Linked DNA regions of Homo sapiens: all the other regions are linked to region 3. Evidence: promoter capture Hi-C in human tissues and cell types (Jung and others, 2019). All regions are on one chromosome and are shown on one strand. Each heading gives the region's core, a stretch centred on a gene start or on the middle of the fragment in contact. The rest is flanking DNA. Distances are from core to core; before and after follow the strand shown.

Evidence for each region. The method cuts DNA at HindIII sites, captures the fragments that hold promoters and counts their contacts. A contact is called where the count stands out against the background at its distance.
Region 1: a contact is called between a fragment that was not itself captured here and the fragment with the promoter of TOMM7 in region 3, in 2 of the 25 tissues and cell types used here (hippocampus and psoas muscle).
Region 2: a fragment that was not itself captured here is called in contact with the fragment with the promoter of TOMM7 in region 3 in 2 of the 25 tissues and cell types used here (IMR-90 fibroblasts and spleen).
Region 4: a fragment that was not itself captured here is called in contact with the fragment with the promoter of TOMM7 in region 3 in 5 of the 25 tissues and cell types used here (aorta, hippocampus, liver and 2 more).

Annotation. Positions count from the first base shown.
Region 1 is chr7:22,856,753-22,862,739 of GRCh38, reverse strand. It overlaps SNHG26 (small nucleolar RNA host gene 26), which reads right to left. Exons shown (of 5, transcript NR_146320.1): 3 at 5,724-5,767; 4 at 2,102-2,193; 5 at 1,304-1,854. Among named protein-coding and RNA genes, the nearest start is that of SNORD93, 3.1 kb to the right of the region's middle. RefSeq lists an enhancer at 3,031-4,230. The HindIII fragment of the contact is 3,477 bases long and covers 2,999-5,987 here.
Region 2 is chr7:22,781,147-22,787,812 of GRCh38, reverse strand. No RefSeq gene overlaps it. Among named protein-coding and RNA genes, the nearest start is that of TOMM7, 38 kb to the left of the region's middle. RefSeq lists an enhancer at 5,269-5,769. The HindIII fragment of the contact is 7,103 bases long and covers 1-6,306 here.
Region 3 is chr7:22,821,589-22,827,850 of GRCh38, reverse strand. It overlaps TOMM7 (translocase of outer mitochondrial membrane 7), which reads left to right and starts at 5,002. Exons shown (of 3, transcript NM_019059.5): 1 at 5,002-5,174. The coding sequence starts at 5,072. LOC112267993 (a long non-coding RNA gene) reads right to left here and starts at 4,894. Exons shown (of 3, transcript XR_002956543.2): 1 at 4,152-4,894. RefSeq lists enhancers at 4,772-4,981, 5,012-5,091, 4,761-5,521. The HindIII fragment of the contact is 34,135 bases long and covers 1-6,262 here.
Region 4 is chr7:22,872,442-22,878,529 of GRCh38, reverse strand. LOC107986776 (a long non-coding RNA gene) reads left to right here. Exons shown (of 5, transcript XR_007060249.1): 4 at 2,804-2,919; 5 at 3,338-3,839. Among named protein-coding and RNA genes, the nearest start is that of SNORD93, 19 kb to the right of the region's middle. RefSeq lists an enhancer at 5,792-5,901. The HindIII fragment of the contact is 6,914 bases long and covers 1-6,088 here.

The DNA.
Region 1 (5,987 bases), core at 3,488-5,987, 35 kb before region 3:
TCTCCCCTTCCATTAAAAAAAAAAAAAATCAAAAAACCAAAACCCTGAAAGACACTTTAGTATACACACACACACACACACACACACACACACACTAAGATCAGGGATCAAGAAACTAGAACTGGCCGGGCACGGTGGCTCACGCCTGTAATCCCAGCACTTTGGGAGGCCCAGGCGGGTGGATCATGAGGTCAGGAGATCGAGACCATCCTGGCTAACACGTTGAAACCCCATCTCTACTAAAAACAGAAAAAATTAGCCGGGCGTGGAGGTGGGCGCCTGTAGTCCCAGCTACTTGGGAGGCTGAGGCAGGAGAATGGCGTGAACCCAGGAGGCGGAGCTTGCAGTGAGCCGAGATCGTGCCCCTGCACTCCAGCCTGGGTGACAGAGCGAGACTCCGTCTCAAAAAAAAAAAAAAAAAAAAGAAACTAGAACTATCCTTTATATGGTTCTTCATTAAGGAAGTTGCATTTTGATGAGATGTAGCATACCAAGTCCTTTTGCTCTTAACTAAAAAAATTTGGGGTCAGGCATGGTGGCTCAAACCTGTAATCCCAGCACTTTGGGAGGCCGAGGTGGGTGGATCACTTGAGATCAGGAGTTTGAGACTAGCCTGGCCAACATGGTGAAATCCTGTCTCTACTAAAAGTACAAAAATTAGCCAGACATGGTGGCACACGTCTGTAATCCCAGCTACCGGGAGGCTGAGGCAGGAAAATTGCTTGGACCCAGGAGGTGGAGGTTGCAGTGAGCCGAGACCACCACTGCACTCCAGCCTGGGTGACAGAGCAAGACTCCATCTCAAAAAAAAAAAAAAAAAAATTTTTTTTTTTACGTTTATTTAGAGATGGGGTCTTGCCATGTTGCCCAGGCTGGTCTGAAACTCCTGAGTTCAAGCAATCTACCCGCCTTGGCCTCCCAAAGTGCTGGGTGGGAGCCACTGTGAGAACCACTGCACCTGGCCTGCTCTTGATTAATGAACACACAGATGCTTGTAGAGTGGGCATAGCAGAGTGTTTACTAAATACACTCTGAAGTCTTTCATTTAAAATCTCCAGAAGTACTAGCAACTTGAGTATAGAATTTATGTCAAATCTTCTAAGTAGTGCTGAGTACCCCTGCACCTTCTGCCCTTCAAATAATAGCTGCTTATCTGTAAGTTTTTCCATTTTCAAGTGCTAATTTTATTCTTCTTTTCCCTGAAGGTCACATATGGTAAAACAGCAATACCTTTCTCTCTACTGGATAGTGAATCAACTGTTTTAGACCAGTACTGTCCAACAGAAATATAATACGCATCATGTATCATTAAAAAATGTATTTCATTTAACTCAATATATTCAAAACATCATTTAATTTGTAATCAATATAAAATTGAGATAGTTTACATTTTTTTCAAGTTAATTCTTCACTCCTGGTGTTTTTCACCCTTCAGCACATGTCAACTTGGTCTAGCCACATTTTAGGTACTCAATAGCACATGTGAATAGTGGCTACCCCATTGGACTGCAGTTTTAGATTCTGATTTCCAAAGTTCCACATATTTCTCACTGTGAGAGGCCTATAAATGATACAATGTGCTCTATTCTGCCTTAAAGAGTGGCAGTAACATGGCAGGGCACTTGTCCAGCTGCAAAATCAATGGTATGAGACTCCATTCCATCAGCTACAACATTCGGCTCTATTCCCAGAAACATACATCAAACTGATTAGACTGGATTTTGTCTTTGAAACAGATTAGTGTGGAGCTGTCCTGGAGATGGAGATGTCAACGGAGGATGATTCTGAGACAACTGGCCCCTTGCAGTGCAGATAAACTCCATTAGGGGGCCTTCTAGTCATGGTGGCATAATCCTGGATTGTGATTAATGACAATTTTGTAACAAAATATTGCCATCAGAACTTTCCAGTTTATGAATACGAGGTAAATTTTGGAAAGACAATCTTTTCTAGTACAAAATAAAAGTAAGCCTTTCGAACACATCTCTGGCTGTTCACAGAATGTGAGCATGGCTTTCGTCTCAAGAGGAAAAGTTACCCCTGGTTTTAGCTTGAAAATCAGCTGAGTAGGCCCAGGCCCACAGTGATCTGGTCCACTCACCTCCCTGCTCCAGAGGCAGTCTCCACTTTCTCTAGATCCCCATTTAGTTATGCAGACACCTTCTGTTCCATTCCTTTCTTCAAAGTAGAGTACTTGAGATCATGAAGGAAAGAAAGCTTACTCCTCGGCTTTAAAGAGCTTAGAATGCACATGACCACTCCCCTCCTCCATTAGAAAATTATGGCAATTGCCTGATTACTAACTTGCCAGTTGGCTCTTTGCTCTTAGGAAGCTCAGAGACAACTTGGCTGGAGCCTACAGCATGAGATCTAACAGTTAGGTTTTTTATTCTTGCCCTCTACTTGCTGAGCTTTTATCTGCTTCTAATTATTGTTGCTTGATATTTGTTATAAACCATGCTAAATTATTTTGGGAATGTGGTGGTGGGGGGGTAAAACTAGATTTTTTTTTTCAGTTTGCCCTAATAATTTAATCTTTCACATATTGACCCAGACATGAAATGAAATTATTCCTTACAACAGAAGTCAACCAGAGAACATTCTATTAAAACTGGCTCCGACTTACGTACTGAAATGAGTCACACTGTGAAAGCTCCAGAAAGGTAGGAACTGTCTCTATCACAGGACTTGACACAACACAACAGCAAATATTTGCCAAATTACACAATTAAGTATGTAAGGCTTAAGGACCTTCAAAAAGACACATATTTTAGTCTGGAATATTCACTTGAACTACAAAGATTTGGCTACTTTTAGGAAACAGAATCTATTTGTATCCAAGTGCTCAGGAACACCATGGAGTAAGACAAAATGGGATATGGCCATTCTCGAAATCAAATTGTGACTCAATCTACATGAACTGACATGTCAATGCCACAGTTGTTACACTGGGTCTTATTTACGTCACTATCTGGGGAGGTTTTGTGACCAGAGTTCTTAAATAAGATTTCCTATTTTCAATGAAATCATAACCACTAGCATAAAAATTCTATTTCCAATCACAATTTCTTTTATAGTCATAATTAAAGATTCACATGCCCAAGTTCCTCACTTGGAAGCCCTCTTTGAAAACTTTCAACTCCAGGTTTGCTTCTCTTCATGGCACTTGAGCACAAAAGGATGGTAGTTTAACAGTCCATTCCTGCTTTTAGCTCTGCTAAACACGTAGACAGGCAATGTACTAAGGTAAGCAAGTTGATTCTGCAGAACTGTGGTACTGACTGCAACCACTCATCCCATTTTCCTGGGTGATGCTATGTTTAACAGAGGTTCTATATTGGACAACTCTGCATTGCTAGGCTATAGGGTAAGGGGATTTGGTAGTGGGGGAGTGGCAGGGAAGGTATGAAACCTAGAATCCTAAGGGACATCTGAAGAACTCTGCTCATACGGGCAAGATGGCCTAACTCTGTTCATGTCAGAAAATGCTCTTGGTCACCAGGGCAGGGCTCAACAGGCCCTGTGGTTAGACCTATTACATACAGAAAAGAAGAATGACTCACAACCCATACTTGAATCTATCCCTCTTCTAAGAAGCACCCTTCATTACTCCAAGGAAATGAGGACAAGGAATGCAGACTGGCTTTTTAGCCAGCTTTTCAGAGTCAACCACGTAGTTTATGCAGCATCACCCCGTTTCAACCCAAGACCAATTACTCAGCCTCCTTTCATTTTTCAAATTTCTTGGTTAGCCAGTATTTACCAAGGACATCCTAAGCTTTCCTGAAATGGAAAACAGCCAATATGGAAAGTAATGCTGCAGGGAAGCCACAGTAGTATTCGGAATGGCGCACGGCAACATTTTCCATATCCCACTTTCTGCCATCTCATGCCCACAACAATGGATACATCAGAGGTGAGATTTAAAATGCTGCTGTGGATACAGCATTGTTGTTGCCATCCAGAAGGGGAATTTTTGCAGCACTGATGAGCGTGCCAATACACAACTGCCGTCTGGTCCTGCTTCTTGGGTATTTATTGTGTGCATGAGTCACTTCCGTGACTTATGTCCCAAGAGTGATTTTGATGTATTTTTGATTTTCCAACTTGGCAGTTCATGTAGATAGTGACCCCAAACCATCTTGCCATAGATTTCACTGGAAACACCACTGAAATGCCAAGGAGGGTTAAGTTTTTAAAGTCATGTTTATTGAAGTATGATTTTACATTCAGCAAAATTCATCCTGTTAAGGTTTGACAAACGCACAGTCATACCATAATCAAGATGCAGAACTGTAGAATCACACTAACAATTCCTTCCTGCCCTTGTAATCAACCCCTTTTTGATCCCAAGGAACTCACTGACCTGTTTTTCTGTCAAAAGTATCAAATTTCATCACTAAAATGATCTACAGTACTATGGAAAAATGTGTAAGCACATAAAATACACAAACCTATTTTTTTAAAAGTGAGATACTTAAAATTTCTTTAGCATACCAACAAAAAATGAAGGTAGCATTGCATTTTACTACAGATGTGCGGACATTCAAAGTCCACCATTGTCGTATATATGGCTCAACAGTAATATTTAAGAATATACTGCTGGGTATAGTGGCTGACGCCTGTAATCCCAGCCCTTTGGGAGGCTGAGGCAGGCTGATCACCTGAGGTCAGGAGTTCTAGACCAGCCTGACCAACATGGAGAAACGCCATCCCTACTAAAAATACAAAATTAGCTGGGTGTGGTGGCACATGCCTGTAATTCCAGCTACTCGGGAGGCTGAGGTAGAATTGATTGAACCCAGGAGGTGGAGGTTGTGGTGAGCTGAGATCATGCCACTGCACTCCAGCCTGGGCAACAAGAGCAAAACTCCGTCTCAAAAAAAAAAAAAAAAAAAAAGAATATACTGGGCGGGCATGGTGGCTCACCCCTATTAATTCCAGCACTTTGGAAGGCCGAGGCAGGCAGATCACTTGAGATCAGGAGTTCGAGACCAGCCTGGCCAACATGGTGAAACCCTGTCTCTACAAAAATACAAAAATTAGCTTGTAATCTCAGCTACTCGGGAGGCTGAGGTGGAGAATCGCTTGAACCCGGGAGGCAGAGGTTGCAGTGAGCTGAGATCGTGCCACTGCACTCCAGCCTGGGCGACAGTGAGACTCCGTCTCAAACAAACAAACAAAAATGTGTAAAAATACAAAATTAGCTGGGTGTGGTGGCACGCGCCTGTAATCCCAGCTACTCAGGAGGCTGAGGCAGGAGAATCGCTTGAATCTGGGTAGCAGAGGGTGCAGTGAGCCAAGATTGCACCACTGCACTCCAGCCTGGGCAACAAGAGTGAAACTATCTATTATAAAAAAAAAAAAAAAAAAAAGACTATACTGTAAAATAACAATCTTAGAGTTAAGTCATATCTTTGTTGACCATGTGAACCATGATGAAGGTATTGCTACTTGTTTTATTAACACTGTCAAGTTACAGACCACAGCTGGTTCATGGAAAAACTACCTTAAATAATAGAATTGAATTCCACAGAAATGTTCTACAGGATCAAGTCAGCTATAAGGCAGTTTTGTGTCTCCAAAACTGTCAAATAATATTCCTATAGATGATTGGGGCCATCTCAAAATTCAACCTTGCTACCACTGTGAAAGGGACAAAAAAAAAAAAAAAAAAGCAACCTCTATTCTGTAGATACTAAAGGTTACATATTCAAATATACCTCCTCTACTTGAAAAGCTTCACTGATTCTTTCAAGCGCCAGACCTGTAAAAGAAGTATCACAGTAGGTATTACTAAATAGCAAAATACAGTACTGTCTAGACTGTTTACAAAAACTGTGCAAGTAAGTAAATAAAATCGTCCAGTATCTTACACACTGTTGCTTTAGTAATGTTGTGACATCTAAATTTATGTTTTCACTCAAAATCCTGTCTTTCTCTTGGCTTAGTAGTATTATCCATTTACCAAGAGCTTTTTCCCTTTT
Region 2 (6,666 bases), core at 1,506-4,005, 38 kb after region 3:
CACATCCATGGATTCAACCAACCATGCCTTGAAAACTACAACAAAAACTACCCCCAATAATAAAAAAAATACAACAATGAAAAATAATACAAAATTTTCTAGGCTCTCAGGCCTCCCTGGTAAAATAAAATAAAAAAAACCCAACAAATTAAAAAATACAGTATAACAAATATTACATAGCATTTACATTGTATTTGGTATTATAAGTAATCTAGAGATGATTTCAAGTACGTGGGAGGATAGTACATAGGTTATGTGTAAATATTTTATATAAGGGACTTGAGTGTCCATGGATTTTGCCACCTGAGGGGGTCCTAGGACTAATCCCCCATGGATACTGAGGAATGACTGTATTTATGTATATACAACGCTATATTTTTCCATATATTATTTCCTTAATCTTCACAACAATCTTTTAAAATCCTGTTTATAGACAAGGAAACAAGTCTAAAAGGTATTAGATGTTATGCCCTAGTTCATACATCTAAAAATGATAGATCAGGGATTTGAACCCATAGGCTGACTCCAGACCTGGCACCAGGAGAGTCTACATAATTTATGGGGCCCTGTGAAAAACAAAAATATGGGGCTCCTTGTTTGAACATTGTTCAAGATGGTGACAGCAGAGCATTAAACCGTGGTTAGGGTTATTTTGAGTACAGGGCTCTCTGTGCCTGCGCAAGTTGCTTTCCCACTGAACTTGCCCTGCCAGCACTCTTGCTTGCTACGCAATATTGCCTCCCATCTATAAATAGGAAAATATTTCAGATGAGGGTCCTAAAGCCAGTTGGAAAAAATGACAGGATCAGGTGTCCTCATTCTAAACCTACAATTTATTTCTCTGCATCACACTGCCACTCTAGGGCAGTAAACTCACACTCTACCTAACACCTTACCTGGGCTTGAACCTCCTGCAAGATCTTCACACTGATGGACTATTCAGCCACGTTGCTAGGAACACTGATGCCCTTCCTGCTTGAATGGCCATATTCTAGCACATGTTCTACTGAGGGCATATTGCCTGCATAGGGAAGGGGCACACAGCACCAGGGAGCACTGCACCCAATTCCAGTACCATCTGGTGAGCTCTTTGCTATCTAGGCAACTATTTCCTTGATGGCTTCCTGTCAGTAAAGGCAGGCAGGATGGCAGATGGCAGTAAAGAGTTAACGCAGCAGGCCTGGGTTGTCCAAACACCACACATTCCAAATGTCTTTAGGACCGGACTTTGACCACCTGCTGATAAGCTCCAAGCCCTTGTAAAATCCCACCATGAGAGTTTATTTGTATACCTGAGGCCATGGGCCCTTCTGGATATTATATATTAACAATGTAATTTAAGATGAACACCTGTTTTTGTTGTTTTTTTGCCTGAGGGCCTAGGCCACTGCCTTACCAATTTGACCTCTGAGGGCAACTAGAGACTTACATTGTTAAGGTTAGTCATGTGGTTACTCCATAAAAGCCCTGGATACCAACCTTTGGGTGAGCTTTTCTAGTAGGCAACACTTCACATCTATTGTCACACATCATTGCTGGGAGAATTTAGCACTGTCTGTGCAACTCCATTGGGAGAGGACAACTGGAATCTTATACCTGGCCTATGCCCTTTGTTAATAATGACTGAGATTTTTTTTCAGGATTAATGAAAACATCAAACCTCAGATTTAGGGAATTCCCTTGCTGATTTTAAACTCTATCCTTGCCATGTGGACCTCTCCATAGGATAATTCACAGCATGGCAGCTTGCTTGCATCAGAACAAGCCAGCAAAAAGAACCAGAGAGAAAGAGAGGGAGATATTTAGCAAGACAGAAGTCAGTTACAGTCTTTTGTAACCTAATATCAAAAGTGGTATATCACTTTTGCCATATTTGATTCATTAGAAGCAAGTGACTAGATCCATCCCACACTCAAGAGGGAATTACACAAGGTCATTTTGTTGTGAAGATGAGAACAATGACTTCCAAGCTCTTTAAATGTTGGACTGGGAACTGGAAGTCCCCATTACACTACTAAATTAATACACATTCGCTTCTTTGTCTTGTTAAAGAAATATGGATTGTGAGTGGAGTCTTCCAGCTTTCAACAATGGGAGAAATATTTGTTATGATGAGCAAAACAAAATACAAGAATGCAACATATTTGTAGTCTAATTTTTTTTTAGCCCTGAATTCAGAGCTTCAAATATAATGTAATCTTAACATGTTTCTTTTCTTTTTCTTTTTTTTTTTGAGACGGAGTCTCACTCTGTCGCCCAGGCTGGAGTGCAGTGGCGCGATCTCGGCTCACTGCAACCTTCGCCTCCGGTTCAAGGGATTCTCCTGCCTCAGCCTCCCGAGTAGCTGGGACTACAGGCGCCTGCCACCGCGCTGGGCTAATTTTTTTTGTATTTTTAGTAGAGACTGGGTTTCACCGTGTTAGCCAGGATGGTCTCGATCTCCTGACCTCGTGATCTGACCTCGTGATCCGCCCGCCTCGGCCTTCCAAAGTGCTGGGATTATGGGTGTGAGCCACCGCGCCCGGCCAACATGTTTCTTTAAAAAGCACAGAAATAAAACTAGAAGGAAGTATTCCCAAAGATTAACAATGAGTAAATATTGATCTTAATCATAGTATATTGGAGGATATTAGCTCTTCTTTCTTTTTTTAATTTTTTTACAACCTTAGCATACACCAGAGGATGCTCTTATTTTTGGTTTTATTTTCTACATTGAGCATATATGTCTTAAAACTTCCAAAAAATGGAAAAATATGTTTTCCCCTGAAGTTGTCATGGAATAAGGAACAAGGTTTCTTAATTTGGGAGCATATGCTTACTGAAATGGCTAATTTTATTTATTTGTTTTTAGAGACAGGGTCTCACTCTGTCACCCAGGCTGGAGTGCAGTTCTGTAATCATAGCTCACAGGGCCCTTGAACTTCTGGCCTCCAGCGATCCTCTGGCCTCAGCCTCCAGAGTAGCTGGGACTATGGGTACATGCCACCACACCCAGCTATTTGTTTTTATTTATTTATTTATTTATTTATTTTTTATTTATTTATTTAGTAGACATGGAATCTTGCTATGTTGCCAAGGCTGGTCTTGGACATCTGGTCTCAAGTGATCCTCCTGCCTTGGCCTCCCAAAGTGTTGGAATTACAGGCATGAGCCACTGTGCCCAGTCTGGCTTATTTTAATATGTGGTAATTACTGCTGACATGTTAGGAAGTATGCTGAAGAAACATGAGCCTCGTCCTTGTTGCTATAAATTGACCATTCCCTATTGTGTTTGTCTTTGTTATCTCTAACCAGTAGAGTGAATAGTGTGATGATGTGAAAAGGTTTGATCTGTACTGGCTGTTTCCCAGTCTCCCTGGAAATACCAGCAAGATAAATTCCCCATTGTGCTGGATGATTGTGAGTGAGCTACAAGCAGAACTTGATATGCTGAAACATAACACAATTTGTAAGACATTACTGAACTTCTTAGGCAAAAGCAGATATCAAAGTATATGTTGATTAAATGCATATTGCTGAGATTTTCTTCCCCTGAAATTCACCTACCCAGATGATAAGTAATTGCACCACATCTCCTACTTTCCCTGTTAATTCTAGAAGTCTGTAAGAGACGTGCTTTGTGTTACTTCATCTTACTGCTTCTATCCTTTTGTAAATTACCAAAGATCACTATTAATTTGAGCTCATGACATCTTTCTGATATTTTCCTTTGGTACATGTGGAACTGAGTGATAAATGTGGTTCTTTGTCATGAGCACTATGGTCGTAATACCTTCCATTTATATTTGTCCCTTCCTTTGATCTCTTCTTTCCCCTGTGCATCCTGAATCACTTCAGGCCCCCATCTCTCTTTGGCAATCATGATTCCTTCCTGTATTTGCCCCTGTTCTCCCCATCTCATGCCAGCCTTCACATTGTCTTTGGTAAACTTCCTCAGACATGCTGTTCACAAAGCTTAGATGGCTCTGCACTGCCTGGCTGTCATGTTCAATCTCACAGAACGCTATGGTGTCCCAACCTGTCCTCATAACCCCATTCTCCACTGTGGCACCTCATCGCAGGGTGCGGTCAAGCTGGAGTTCTTCATATCCCCAGAACCATCATTCCTCTGCATCGTGGCCCTCACTCTTTCTTGGGTCTGGGAGGCCCTCTCCTCATCTCTGCTGACAGCAATCTTACTTGTCTTTATGACCTGCTGCAGCATGAGACACTCATGAGGTCATCTGTGATTCTTGCTCGACCCTCTGCCTCAGGCAAATCAAATTTTCTTTTCTTTTCATTCCTATTATTATTTTTCTTTATTACTAATATGGCAGTCAATCTCCTATTTGAAGTACAGTTATTCTCATGCATGCTTATTTCATCCACAAATTTCCAAATCTCCACAAAGATCAAAACTACCATTGTCATCTGTGTCTCTTCAAAGTGCCAGACAGGTGTTGTTGTCATTGATGAATTAGCATAGCACTTAATGATTTACAGAGTGCTTTGACAAACATCTGTTCTCTCATCTGCCCCAGCCAAGTCTCACAGGTAGGCTGAGCAGGTATTATTGGAATTACATAGATGAAGCCACTGGGGTGCCAAGAGATTGTGTGCCAAGAGCTTAGTTGCCAATCGGTGTGGACAATAACAATTGGATGCCTGCAATTTATCTCATTTAATCTTCATATCAACCATATGGGGAGGGTAGTGTCACCTGTGCTTTACAGGTGGGGAAACTAAGGCCCAGGGACACTTGGAACAACTTTCCTAATACCCTAACTAGATTGTGACAGAATGGGGGCTCACAGCCAGTCTGCCTAACAAGTAGCACCTACCTTTTTCCACTGAGGGGTACTCCATTTCTCTAATTTGGCATTGAAGATAATTAAATATGAGATTAGCAAGTGTGGCTTCTCTTTAACGTTTAGTCTACACCTCTTGGGGCAAACATGGGTGTCTGATCATTTGGGGACTGTGGACTTTGGAAGCATCGCCCCAGGACCTCGGTGTCCAGCAGGGGGAGTGGGAGAGCAGCATCTATCTGGTAAGAGGTATGAGCTCCTGTCCTGGTGCTGGTGGCTTTGCTGTCTTAATATCTCACTTGGCTTCTGGCTGGTAGTTCAACATCAGTGGTTTGCTATTGTTTTCCCTTTGCTACGAGGAAGGCCTCTGCCATTACTGTTGACCTGTCTTAGATGGCGCGAGAATTGATGTCACAGAGAAACGCTGTCTTTGATTCCCTGTGCTTCATAGGGCAAATAGAATGAGAAGCCACATGGGTTAAGAAGCCCACCTGAGAAAACATGGTAGGACTATAGTATGTGTTGTCTTGTCTTTTCTGGAACAAGGGCAAGCACAAATAAAAATAGAACATGGGAGATGGTATAAACTAGTGGGGAGACTGGGCCCCTGACAGGCAGAGTGTAGAAGGCAGATGGTGGAGGTGGGCCAGGGGAGGGGCACAGAAGGCTCAGGAGGCAAGTGGTGAGGCCACAAGGGTCCAGGCGGGTAGCGATGGGCTGAGCGTGGTACTGCATGCCTTGGCAGCTGGTGGGTTATGTTTGGCCTGCAGAGATAACATTGAAGTAGAGATGGCAGGGATACAGTTGCGGTTGAAAGCTAAGTAAGGATGCAACAATGTACAAAGCTCCGAACTGTGGCTGGAATTGGGCTTTGAGGCAGGGAGCTGGAAGTCTGGAAAGATGAACTGGGGCCTGGCATTGAGCTTGTCAGCATGGGGTTAGGGGAATGCTTATGGCATGGAGGAGGGGATGTACTCATAACCCTGAGAAGGCAGGCTGATGCTGGCAAGCAGGTAGTGGTGAACGCCTAAGGAGGATGGCACCAGAGAGGACCATGGCTTGGCAGAACTTGCTGCAGGAGTCCTGCACCTCTCTTTTCAAGGTGCCCATCTGTAGTGCTTTCTGAATCCAGCTCCCCACATTGTTTGTCCTCTGGTGGGCCTGCAACCAGTTCTGTTCTAGAATTACTTGCTTAGTGAAATGTTGGTAGATGACACATTGCACTTTGATGGTAGGAGTGGGGGCGATAAATTTTGGAATTAAAAATTCTTCCAGAGCCAAGCAAATACAGCTTTTTTGGCCAGTGCCTGGATGGAAGGAACAGACACAAGTGCACAGCAGTGTCACGTACATTACCTCACAGAGGAGGTATTTTGAGATAGGAGCCATGCTTTACGCCCCCTCAAGTATGCCTTGCTAAACATCCTGATTACTCAGAAGATGGTCATCTGAAGCCGAGGGGTCTAAGATTCCTGGTGGCCACCTTGACTTGCCTCCCAGCAAAATCTGCTTTCTTTTTAATTTCCCGGTCTTCAGCACAAATGCATTCTTCTCTTGATTTGTGACAGGCTGAGGAGAAATTATTAGGTTCCTCTTCCTTCTGTTGTTGACTGAGATTCAGATGCGCATAGGTTTGAGCTTCTCTGATGACCCAGGGAATAGTTCCAATTATTTAGTGGAAATGAAGCAACTGTTTCAACATGAGACCCACAGAACTTAAGAAGACATAGTGCCAAGAATTCATTTCCAAGTAGTTAGGGAAACCATTAAGCATTTTTGGTTACTGATGCCAAATTAAGAAACTCACTTAAGCTAAGGCTCATTGTTGGCTTATCAAAATCATAGTTTTGAAAACTCAAAGCATTGAAAAAATGTTCTT
Region 3 (6,262 bases), core at 3,753-6,252:
ACCCAGTTTTAATTATATGCAAATTAAGGGGTGGATATTCAGAATTTTCTAGAAAAGAAGGTGGTACTTCTGGGTCATTGCCACAGAAAGGGGAGGTGACTTCCAGGTGTTGCTATAGCAATGGTAAACTGACATGGTACTTGTGGGCATGTCTTATGGAGAGGTGCTTTTGCCTCTTCCCTGTTTCAAGTTAGTCTTCAATCTGGTCTGGAGTTCAAGCCCCACCTCTGGAGTCAAGTCCTGCCTCCTACCTCAATCTTGTCTCAACCAGATAAAGTTGAGTTTCTGGATCTGTAAACGCTCATCAAGACCAACTATGCTCTCTGTGAAGTTTTTCCTGAGTATTTTAGCTCATAAGGCTAGCTCTCCCCTCTTAACACATTTAATTTTTTTTTTTGTTGATTCCACTCATTTAGCACTTTCTGGGTACTGTCTTTTATCATTGACTATGATGTTACTTACTATGTATCTAATACTCTAAAATTTGCAAAGATCTTTTATATATTAACTTTTTTATTTCTCACAATAATATTCTGAGAAGTACACTTATTTTCAGAAGATAAACAGATTTAGGGAGGTAGCCCTTGGTAACTCACTGGAGGTGTTTGAACAGGGGAGTGACATGAGCAGAGCAATGATGTAGAAGCCTGATCTTAACTACAGTGTATAGAGTATATAGCAAAGGTGGAGACTAGAGGCTGGTAGACGAGATAGCTTCCAGCTATTATAGTTTAGGCTATAAGGAGCTGAACTAGGAGGGCACATCAAGAATAGAAGAGAGGTTCTCAACCTTTTTTCCTTCAACAACAAATGTATCCAAGGAATATAACATACTTTTGGCCATTATAATGTTGTCTCCATTTCCAACTGTATATGTGGGAATTACTGTAGAGGTGAATCTCTACTGTGAGGTAGGAGGCAAGACTGAGCTCCAGAGGCAGGGCTTGGACACTGGACAAAATTGAGGACCAGCTAAAACAGGGACAGGGTGGAAGCAGTTTTCCATAAGTCACACCTCCCATGTGCCATGTGCCATGTGTGCTATGTGCCATGTCAGTTTACTGTTGCCATGGTAACACCGGGGAGCTACCACCCCTTTCCATGGCAGTGACATGACAACCCAAAAGTTACTACCCCTTCCCTAGAAATTACTGCATAAACTCTGCCTTAATCTACATGTAATTAAAAGTAGGTATAAATACGACTGAAAAACTGCCCTGAGTTGTTATATCTGCAGGAGCAGTCATGGAGCTGTAACACCTCTTTAATAAAGCTGTTTTCTTTTACCACCAGCTTGGCCTTGAATTCTTCCCTGGGTAAAGCCAAGAACCCACAGGCTAAGACCCACTTTAGGGCTCACCTGTCCTGGATCAAATCTACATAATTTAGACTTTGTGGAGGTCAAGGAGTAAGATTAACCCAGTATGTTACACAAGCTCAAAACTTGACAGTCATCCTTGACTACTTCTTTCAATGTTGCCCTACATATTCATTTGGCCGACAAGTCCTGCTGATTTCACCTTCTTAATGGTTTTCAAATTTACTCCTCTCTCTAGTTTAACTGCATGGGGTTCTTCAAAAGTTCCCTGACTCCTCTAGGCAGTGTTAGTTGTCTTTCTTCTGCCTTTCTGTCAAATTTTGAGCATAACTTTATTGTGGGACTTAGTATATATATTCACATTACATTGGAATCATCTGTTTACTCATGTTTCTCCATTCAACCATGATATTCTTAAGGGCAGTTTAAAAAAAAATCTTATATCTCTAGTGCCTAGCATATAATAAGGCTCAATGAATGTTTGAGGAAGGCAAATGACTTTGGTATTTTTAGCCCATCTGGCAGGATAAGTGCCACATTCACTGCATTCTTACTATGTATGAGGTATTTGAATAAAAAGATGAGAAACAGTTTCTGCATTGAATACATGGACACTAAGAAGGGAGCAATATACATGGGGACCTACTTGAGGGTGGGAAGAGGGTGAGGATCCAAAAACTACCTATCAGGTACTATGCTTATTGCCTGGGTGAGAAAATAATCTATGCACCAAACCCCCACAACATGCAATTTACCCATATACCAAACCTGCACATGCACTCCCTGAAACTACAGTAAAAGTTTGAAAGAAAAAAAAAAAAAAGAAATAGCTTCTGTTTTGGAGGAGCTCAGATAACAGCAAGGGACAATATAATGACTAAGAGCAACCAACTGTGTGATCTTTTATCAATTATTTAATATCTCTGAATCTCAGTTTCCTTATCTGTGAAATGAAACCATATATATCCTTACAAGAATTAGTAAAATAAGCTATAATGCAGTGCAATCTTACAAATTCCTGTAAGGATTAAAAGAACAATTATTCAGCCGGGTGCGGTGGCTAACGCCTGTAATCCCAGCACTTTGAGAGGCCGAGGCGGGCAGATCACGAGGTCAGGAGATCAAGACCATCCTGGCTAACACGGTGAAACCCTCATCTCTACTTAAAAAAAAAAAAAAAGTACAAAAAATTAGCTGGGCATGGTGGCAGGCGCCTGTAGTCCCAGCTACTTGGGAAGCTGAGGCAGGAGAATAGCGTGAACCTGGGAGGCGGAGCTTGCAGTGAACCGAGATCGTGCCACTGCACTCCAGCCTGGGTGACATTCCAAGACTCCATCTCAAAAAAAAAAAAAAAAAAAAGAACTATTTTTCAGCACTTAACACAGTGACAGGCATAGTAGACACAGGTTGTTATTATTCATGATGATGAGCCTAGCAGAAGAACACTATAATATGAGGTGAATTTTTTTTTCTTGTTTTTAAAGATGTGGTCTCACTCTGTTGCCCAGGCTGGATTGTAGTGATGAAACTGCCACTGTAAAATTATAACTGAGACGGCGAAAGACATCTGACATCACCAACTCCATCTTGCTTCTAACCTCCAAGCTGTCCTTGTTCACTCCTGGGCATAGGCTGAACTAACTTTGGAAAGAACTTTTAGTTTATAGCTTAAAACAAAGATGATAACAGCCCTTTCCCTAAACAAATCCCCTTCTTGCCTAAAAAAATTCTTTTAATCCTTACAGGAATTTGTAAGATTGCAGTGCATTATAGCTTATTTTACTAATTTTGTAAGGATTTAAATATATATAGTTGGCTTCATTTTACAGGTAAGGAAACTGAGATTCAGAGATATTAAATAATTGATCAAAGATCACACAGTTGGTTTGTGCTTTTAGTCATTATATTGTCCCTTGCTGTTGTTATCTGAGCTCCACCAAAACATAAACTATTTCTTTTTTTTTTTTTGCTCTTTCCAACTTTTACTTTAGTTTCAGGGAGTGCATGTGCAGGTTTGGTATACAGGCTAACAGATTAGCGAAAAGATTAGACATTATGGTTTAGGAGTCATGCAGCTGGAGGCTACAAGATTCTGACCCTCCCCAAATTGCTCCTGGGGATAACAACTCTATTGTAAAGCCTAACATCAGTGTTTGAGATATTTTGCAGACCCTGCAAAATGGATCAGCTGGAACCACCCAGATAGGTAAACTGGCTCATCTGATCTTGTGGTCCCAACCCAGGAACTAAGATTCTGACCCTTCCCAAATTGCTCCTGGGAATAACACTATTGTAAAGCCTAACATCAGTGCTTGAGATACTTTGCAGAGCCTGCAAAATGGATCAGCTGGCACCACCCAGATCGGCAAACTGGCTCATCTGATCTTGTGGCCCCGACCCAGGAACTGAGGCAGTACAAGACAGCTTCCACTCCCTGTGATTTCATCTCTGACCCAACCAATCAGCACTTCCGACTTACTGGCTGTCTCCCCACGCACCAAATTGTCCTTAAAAACTCTGATCCCCGAATGCTATGGGATACTGATTTGAGTAATAATAAAACTCTGGTCTCCTGCACAGCCAGCTCTGCGTGAATTACTCTTTATTGTAATTCCCCAGTGTTGATCAATCGGCTCTGTCCAGGCAGCGGGCAAAGTGAACCCTTTGGGAGCTTACAGCAAGTGACCCAATCACAGCTCACTGCAGCATCAAACTCAAGTGGTCCTCCCGCCTCAGCCTCCCAAATAGCCAGAATTACAGGCGCAAGCCACAGAGGTCAGCAAGGGGAAATTTTTAGGAGCACAGACATTGGGCACAGAAAACGACTACGTACCTTCAGAATGAGGCAGGAAAGTCTTAAAAGTCAAAGTCTTAGAAATGTCTTACAGCCTTAAAAATCAATTAAGTCTTAGACCTGGGGGGGTCAAATCTCAAATACGACAGCAGCCAGAAATTTATTACATCAGAGGTTGGGAATCACTTGGGAAACTTCAAAGGCAGATCAATGGCCAGTTCCCAGCCCCAAACTCTTTAGAATTTCTAGGAGTAGGTCTCCAGCGTGAGTATGGTTTTACCTCTCCTAAAGTGATTCTAATGTGCAGCCAGGGTTGAGAACCACTGCCATTCTAAACCAATGAGGGCAAGATGGCCAAACAGAAGTGTCATTTCCTATTTAGTCTCCTTGATTGTTGCAATGGAATTCCTCAGCTTCAAAAGTCCAGAATTTCATGTGAGATTTCCAAATTCTAAAATGTTGGCAAGTAATTAAAAGAAATTTTTTTAAAAAAGATTGGGATCAAAGAAAACATGGATTCGGGCCCTACTGAGTGTCACTTCGTAACCTTTTTGCAGTTCAACCTCAGGTTTGAACAACCTGATTCTGAGAAGTTAAATAATTTGTCCACGGTTACACAGCCAGTAGGAATAAGAGTTAGGACTAAAACCCAGTCCCTCTGAATTTAATTAATGTTCCTTCCATGAGAAGGAAGGAACACCTGAAGATGCGTTTTAAAAATGGGTAACAGAAACGCGAAGTTACCGCCAGCCATGATCGCAACCACGCATGCGCCTACTACTGCCGGCGAGGCGGAAGAGCAGGGAAGGTTAAAGGCGATGAATTACGACCTCTGCTGGCGACGCTCACGACTCCTGCCGTAAAGGCCGTGTGTGGCGCCTGCGCACCTCCTTTCCCTTTCGGATTCCCGACGCTGTGGTTGCTGTAAGGGGTCCTCCCTGCGCCACACGGCCGTCGCCATGGTGAAGCTGAGCAAAGAGGCCAAGCAGAGACTACAGCAGCTCTTCAAGGGGAGCCAGTTTGCCATTCGCTGGGGCTTTATCCCTCTTGTGATTTACCTGGGTCAGTGGGAGAAGAACCGGGAAAGTGACTGGAGGGAAGAGGGTGGCGGAGACAGCAGCCCCATTTTTGGCCGTCGGGGGAGGGAGAGAAAAATAGGGGACACTGCCGTGCACGGCCCCTGAGGCTGTCTGGTCAAGTGGGGCCGATCTAACCTGAGTTCGAGTTCCCGTTCTATCGCTTTATAGTTGCATGGTCTTTAAGCAGTCTTGCAATCCCTCCTTTTCTATTTTTGCATCCTTAAAGTGGAGGTCATATTTCTCGGGATTGTAGGGAGGGTTGGATGACCCCAGTGGATGTGAAAGTCACTAATTCACTCTCTAGCACTAGGTGGTTCTCGGGGTGTTTTTCCTCACCGCTCCATGTGGTCCTAAGTGGAAAGAGTCCTGTTCAGGGAATCGAGACACCTCGTGAAAGTACCACTGCCATGAAAGCATGATTATAATAATAGTCGTTGGATGCCTCTGCTTTCTTACCTGTACGATGAAGGGTTTGGATGATTTCTATTACTGCCCCCATTTTACAGGTGAGGAAACAGCCGTAGAGAAACTTTTTTGCCAAGGTCGCACAGCTATGCTGACTGAGGGAGTTAGGGGCTCAGGCAGTGGGGCATCAGAGCCCATAGTCTTAACCATTATAGCGCACTTAAAGGATTTGGGGTTTTTTTGGTTTTTGTTTTTAAGACAGAGTCTCGCTCTGTCACCCAGACTGGAGTGCAGTGGCGCTATCCCGGCTCATTGCAACCTTCCCCTCCTGTGCTCTAGCGATCCTTCCACCTCAGTCTCCCAAGTAGCTGGGACTACAGGCTGGTGCCAACAGGCTCGGTCACTTACTGCAAGGATTTGTTAATATTTTTCAGTTAGGGTTGCAGACTGGGACCTATTCTGTAGTTTTTTCTTTTCTTTTCTGTCTTTTTTTTTCCTTTTTTCCTTTTTGAGACAGTCGCTGTGTGCCCAGGCTGGAGTGTAGTGGCGCGATCTCTGCCCACCGCAATCTCTGCCTCTCGGGATCAAGCGATCCTTCCCCCTTAGCCTCCCGAGTAGCTGTGATTACAGACTTGCAGCCACCGCTCGCGGCTAATGTTTATATTT
Region 4 (6,088 bases), core at 2,150-4,649, 52 kb before region 3:
CAGGATGGCCTCGATCTCCTGACCTCATGATCCACCTGCCTCAGCCTCCGAAAGTGCTGGGACTACAGGTGTGAGCCACAGTGCCCGGCCAACCCCATCTCTATTAAAAATACAAAAATTAGCTGGGTGTGGTGGCGCATGACTGTAATCCCAGCTACTCAGGAAGCTGAGGCAGAAGAATCACTTGAACCCAGGAGGTGGAGGTTGCAGCAAGCTGAGATCATGCCACTGCCCTCCAGCCTGGGCGACAAGGGTACTCCATCTAAAAAAAAAAAAGCAGGTACATAAAAACATATGTGTTGGAATAAATATAATAAATAATTATAAAGGCTGGGTGTGGTTGCTCACACTTGTAATCTCAACACTTTGGGAGGCTGAGGTGGGAGTATTGCTTGAGCCCAGGAGACCAGCCTGGGCAACATAGTGAGACCCCATCTTTTTTATACATAAAAAAAAAATAACTGGGCATCCTGGTGCATGCCTGTAGTCCTGGCTACTTGGGAGGCTTGAGGTGGGAGGATCTCTTGAGCCTGGGAAGTTGAGGCTGCAGTGAGCTATGATTGCACCATTGCACTCAGCCTGGGAGAACGCGTGAGATCCAGTCTCAACATAATAATGATAATAATTTGTATATTATTTTATAAAATTTTTATTTTATTATTATTATTGTAGGAATACTTTGAAGCCTAAGATGGTGGCATCTTCCTTTAGAGATAACTTTAACTAGCTTCTACCAGATGCATAGTGGACACTAGTCATTTGGTAACACTTTAATCCATGTTCAAGGTTTGAGATTTCCTGGCCCATTGGGATGAGGCAGAACTGGACTACAAGTCCATGTGAGGGTCAGTTTACTTCAGGTTTACCCTTGCTTACATTTAGGATGTAATTACATGGGAATCTCAGCTTAAAATGGGAACTGGTTTATCTCAGTCCCCATCTTTGGTAGCATGGACTTCCATAGTCTGTCTTTCTGAGGACAACAAACCTGCTGTTGTATTTCACAGCTGTTGCTTCGGAATCAGCAGATGTCCTCAGGGCATTGTGGGCTTTGTTCTTGGAGGTCTCATGTTCTTCCAAGTGTTTGTCTGATATTTTCTCATTAGCTTGTTGACTCTGTGGAGCTTTTAAGATTTTAAAATACATTCTCTCCAGCTTTTAAAATTTATAACTATATTGCACAAAAATAAAGTTATAGATGTACTGCATAAAAGTATAATTTTGACATTCTGTCTTGTAATCCTGCATATTACATGTCCCTGGGGAGAAATGCATCTTTCTGGATTTTAACTTTGATCCATCTTTTAGGTCAATGATGAAAACATGCTTTGCCTGTACTGCCTTGCAGGGAGATCAAATGTGGCACTTTGCCATGTCTGTCTTCCTGGTAGAATTATATGGACATAATCTGCTTTTATCAGCAGTGTTTGGCTTAGTGGTGGCTGGATATGTATTAATATTTGGGGTCTTAATTGGTGATTGGATTGAAAAGAAACCAAGAAATAAAGGTAACACTCTTAACTGTGACATACATATTTATGTGGTACATTATGACTTCACTGGCTTTTTTGGTTTATTTAGTGAAATAAAATTCATAAATTGCTATGAACTTAATAGCAAAAGAGCATAAGTTAAAAACTCTAGATGAAGTTATACAGCTTTGTGTCATCATTCTCTGATTCTACATGTAAAATATTTTAATGTAGTTTTTAGATTTTTGCTAAGTATAGGTTTTTAATATCAAATTCCTGAAAAGTGCTTTCTTTTTAATATTTTGGCATTACCTATGCATAATATACTTGTGTTGTTTTTATCAGAGGCAATTTATTTGTGTAAATGAGTTTTTGTACTGGGTAATCTGTCTAAACTAGTCATTAATATCTGGAGACTTATTTGTTCAAATGTAGATCTATTTTAGCTTTGGGCTATACTATCTCTTTAAGCGTCTTTGTCCAATAAGAATGTAGGCTATCCTAAGTTTTTCCTATTCCTTGATTTCTAGTCAACGTGACTGCCTTCCTTCTACCATGGAAGGTAGGACTTTTCTCCTTCTACCATGGAAAGGCATTCTCTGAAGCCACACCATTGAAAAGACTAGCTGATTGAAAATCTGGTGTGCTGGTCTTTACGCTAAATTGGTAAATTCAGTTACAAATTAAATCCAGAAGAGTGTGATGTAGCACTAGAACATTTTAAGTTTCTTGACTTACCTAGAATCCAGCTTTTCATATGATCCGTCTCTCAGATATGTTTTCATTCACTTGCAAAGTACAGCTTTTTTCTCTTTTGGTTGCAAAGGCTTTGTCTTTAGTGAGCTCAAGAGTCTGCTCTTTGCCTCTTAAGCCTGTGATCACCGATGGAAATGCTAACCCTGGTTGCACTGGGATTTGGTCTAATGCAACTGCTCTGCATTATTTTTTATTATATTTTATTTTTTTGAGACAGGGTCTCAATTTGTCACCCAGGCTGGAGTGCAGTGGCACAATCTCAGCTCACTGCAACCTCCGTCTCCCAGGTTCAAGTGATTCTCGTGCCTCAACCTCACGAGTAGCTGGAATTACAGGTGTGTGCCATCACGCCTGGCTAATTTTTGTATTTTTAGGAGAGACAGGGTTTTGCCATGTTGGCCAGGCTTGTCTGGAGCTCCTGACCTCAAGTGATCTGCCCGCCTTGGCCTCCCAAAGTGTTGGGATTACAGTTGTGAGCCACCGCACCCAGCCTCCTCTGCATTAAATGATGATATAGCTGTGAACTGCCTGTTAAAACTGAGAGTAGAGATTGGGCTGGGTGTTTCCATTCACAGTTGCTTATACCTCGCTCTGCATGCAGAACGCCTCCGTCACCGCCTGTTGCACTGTCCTGATGCTTGTGCTCCCCTACAAGAGGCAGATGGAACAAATCTGGGATGGCTGGCTCACTGTGAGTGTCTCCCATGTCCCTACGTCACAGACACCCTGAATGTCCACCAGTTAGTGTTTTCTTTGTGGCCACGCTCACTGGTTTTGGATCAGGCTAATCTTTCCTCAGTGTCCTCCTCTCCCCTAATTTGTGAGTCTGAGCTGAAATCCCACTGACATGAAGGCAATAGAACAGCAGAGTCTGTGTCTGCAAGGTGCAAATTAGCATCGGCTCTGGCTCTGATGGGGTGGGAGGAAGAAAATGCTTAGCATTAACACAGTAGAATTGGGCTCCAAACCTACATTGAATCTTTTTCTCTCTCAGGTCTTTGTGTTCATTTAGATGTTCCTTGAGCTGTCAGATAAATAACCTTATGCACTGCAGTGGGGCGGGAAAATCTATTCTTGGGTTCCATACACCCTTTCCCCTCCTTCGGTAGGTGGCCTGCTGTGCACTGGTGACCACCCTAGTGGCCTTGGCAAACCTGGCCGGCACGGCGCTGACCGTCACCATCCAGAGGGACTGGATCGTGAGCTGACGGGTGACAACAGAGGCCAGCTGGTTGGTGAGTGGTACCGCCCTGGGTACTGATCCTCTAATCAGCTGAGAAGTAGAGAGCTGACAAGGCAATCAGGGCTCTGAGAGAGGCTGACAACAGCCTTTAAGAATATGTTATTTGGAGTCAATGAGACCTGGGTTTGAGTCTGAATTCAGCTAAAATCAGCTGTGCCTCTTACTAGATGCATACTCCAGGGCAAGTTACGTGACTTTCCTCATCTGTATAATGAGGGAAATAAAGACACACACACACACACACACACACACACAGCTCAGCTTTGGGAAGGATTCTATAAGATATAGGATTTGGAAAGCACTTAACACTATGTCTGCATGTAGGAAGTGCCTAAAAAATGATTGGTACTGTATTATCTAAAGAATATATAGGCCAGGCGAGGTGGCTCACGCCTGTAGTAGTCCCAGCTACTCGGGAGGCTGAGGCAAGAGAAGTGCTTGAACCCGGGAGGTGGAGGTTGCAGTGAGCTGAGATCGCGCCACTGCACTCCAGCCTGGGCAACAGAGCAAGACTCTGTCTCAAAAAAAAAAAAAAAAAAAAAAAAAAAAAATATATATATATATATATATATATATATATATATATATATATATATATATATATAGGCTGTACTTTTAGGAGAGAAGCTTCTCAAAATGTATCACAGAGGTACCTTGGCAATTTTAGGCCTAGAAAATAAATAAATTAAAATATTTATTGGCCAGGCTTGGTGGCTCATGGCTGTAATCCTGGAACTTTGGGAGGCCAAGGTGGGAGGATGGCTTGAGGCCAGGAGTTCAAGGCCAGCCTGGGCAACACAGGAATACACTGTCTCTATAAAAGAAAAAAGAAGGCTGTGTGGGGTGGCTCACACGTGTAATCCAAGCACTTTGGGAGGCTGAGGCAGGTGGATCACCTGAGGTCAGGAGTTTGAGAATGGCCTGACCACATGCAGAAACCCTGTTTCTACTAAAAATACAAAATTAGCTTGTTGTGGTGGCACATGCCTGTTATCTCAGCTACTTGGGAGGCTGAGGCAGGAGAATCACTTGAACCTGGGAGGTGGAGGTTGTGGTGAGCCGAGATCGCACCATTGCACTCCAGCCTGGGCAACAAGAGCAAAACTCTATCTCAAAAAAAAAAAAAAAAAAAAAAAAAGATTTATATTTCTTAATTCTGGCCAGTGATAAGCTTCCACTTTAAAAAAAAAATTCATTTTCAAGCGTAACTGTCAATTATCATTGATAATAAAGGTAAACACAATTTTTTAAATAATGGAGTTAAATGAAAGAATCTGGCATTTTTGCTTTTTCTCCCATTTGCAAAACTTGGATCATTCACATTGAGATATATACACGTTGCCAACTTAAAGCTGAAGATCTCATCCTACTCTCTATTTGTGCGGTTGGTACTCTGCTAGAAAATGTTTGTGAGCACGGATGGCCAAGATAAAGGAAGCTATTAAGGAGGAGTCTATAGAAATCATGCCTTGCAAAAACTGGGAACCCCTTATAATCATGATTTCTTTTAAACTACACTTATTTGGATGTACTCTGGTTCAAATAACAGCACCTAAAATAAGACAGCTATGTGGATAAAAGCCAAGTAACATGGTATCGTCCATCTCCGGGTGAAGAATAGAAAGTCTTCCTATTCTTTGTTAATTAAATTTTTTTTTTAAAAAAAGATAAAGCACAGAATTTATTACAATTAAAAAATCTTGTAAATATATCCTTCGATGATGGTGGAATAGTTAAGATAATAAGCTTCATAGTCACACTGCTTGGGTTTGAATCTCAGCTCAGCCATGTGCCCTCTCTGTGACTTTGAACAAATAAAATCACCTATCTGTGCCTCAGTTTCCTAACTTGTGAAAGGGAAACACTATTGACCTGTAAGAGTTGTTGTGAGGATTGAAATGAATAGATGTAGAAAGCTTAAAACTATCGCCTGGCACAGAGTAAGTGTTCAACTAATTCTGTCCTCTACCCTCCTCTTGTCACCTTTCTCCCCGACAAACATGTTGGTTATAATAATGGCTGTTAGTACTATTATAGTTGTTAAGATAATGGGTTGTGTTGGGAAAGAGTGCTGAGATGGGAGTTAAAATAATTAGCTACAAGTAACACAGTCTGTCTGTTTCTCAGTTTATTTATGTTAATTGTCCATGTTCCAATAGAATTGATCTTGAAGGTCTTTTCCTGGTTGCAAATCCTATGGCTAATCTATAGTTAAACCCAAAGGGATCTTTCCTGTTTTCACCATAACTGCATGGCTAGCAAATCTAGCAAATGCATGATGTTAAATTCACCAGAAGGAAGGACTCACCCATTAAGTTGCAATGTTTCCTTCCTCTCACTTACAGGGATGAATACCAACAGTCCGGCAGGAGGACCAGATCATCAATATATTTGCTCCCCTGTCTGTGGGTCAAGTGATGACATGGGCATCTCACGTGATCAGTTGTTGTTTCATTCTTGGATGGAACTTTGTTTCACTTCTTGTAGTTTCTATTTCTGTCCAGGGTTTATCAGCTAGTTCGCCAATTGGCTATACGACCCCAGCAATACACAGTAGGGCACCTCCTAGAAAGGCAACAGGAGGCTGTGAACATTGAAAGTTATGCAAACTCAGAGG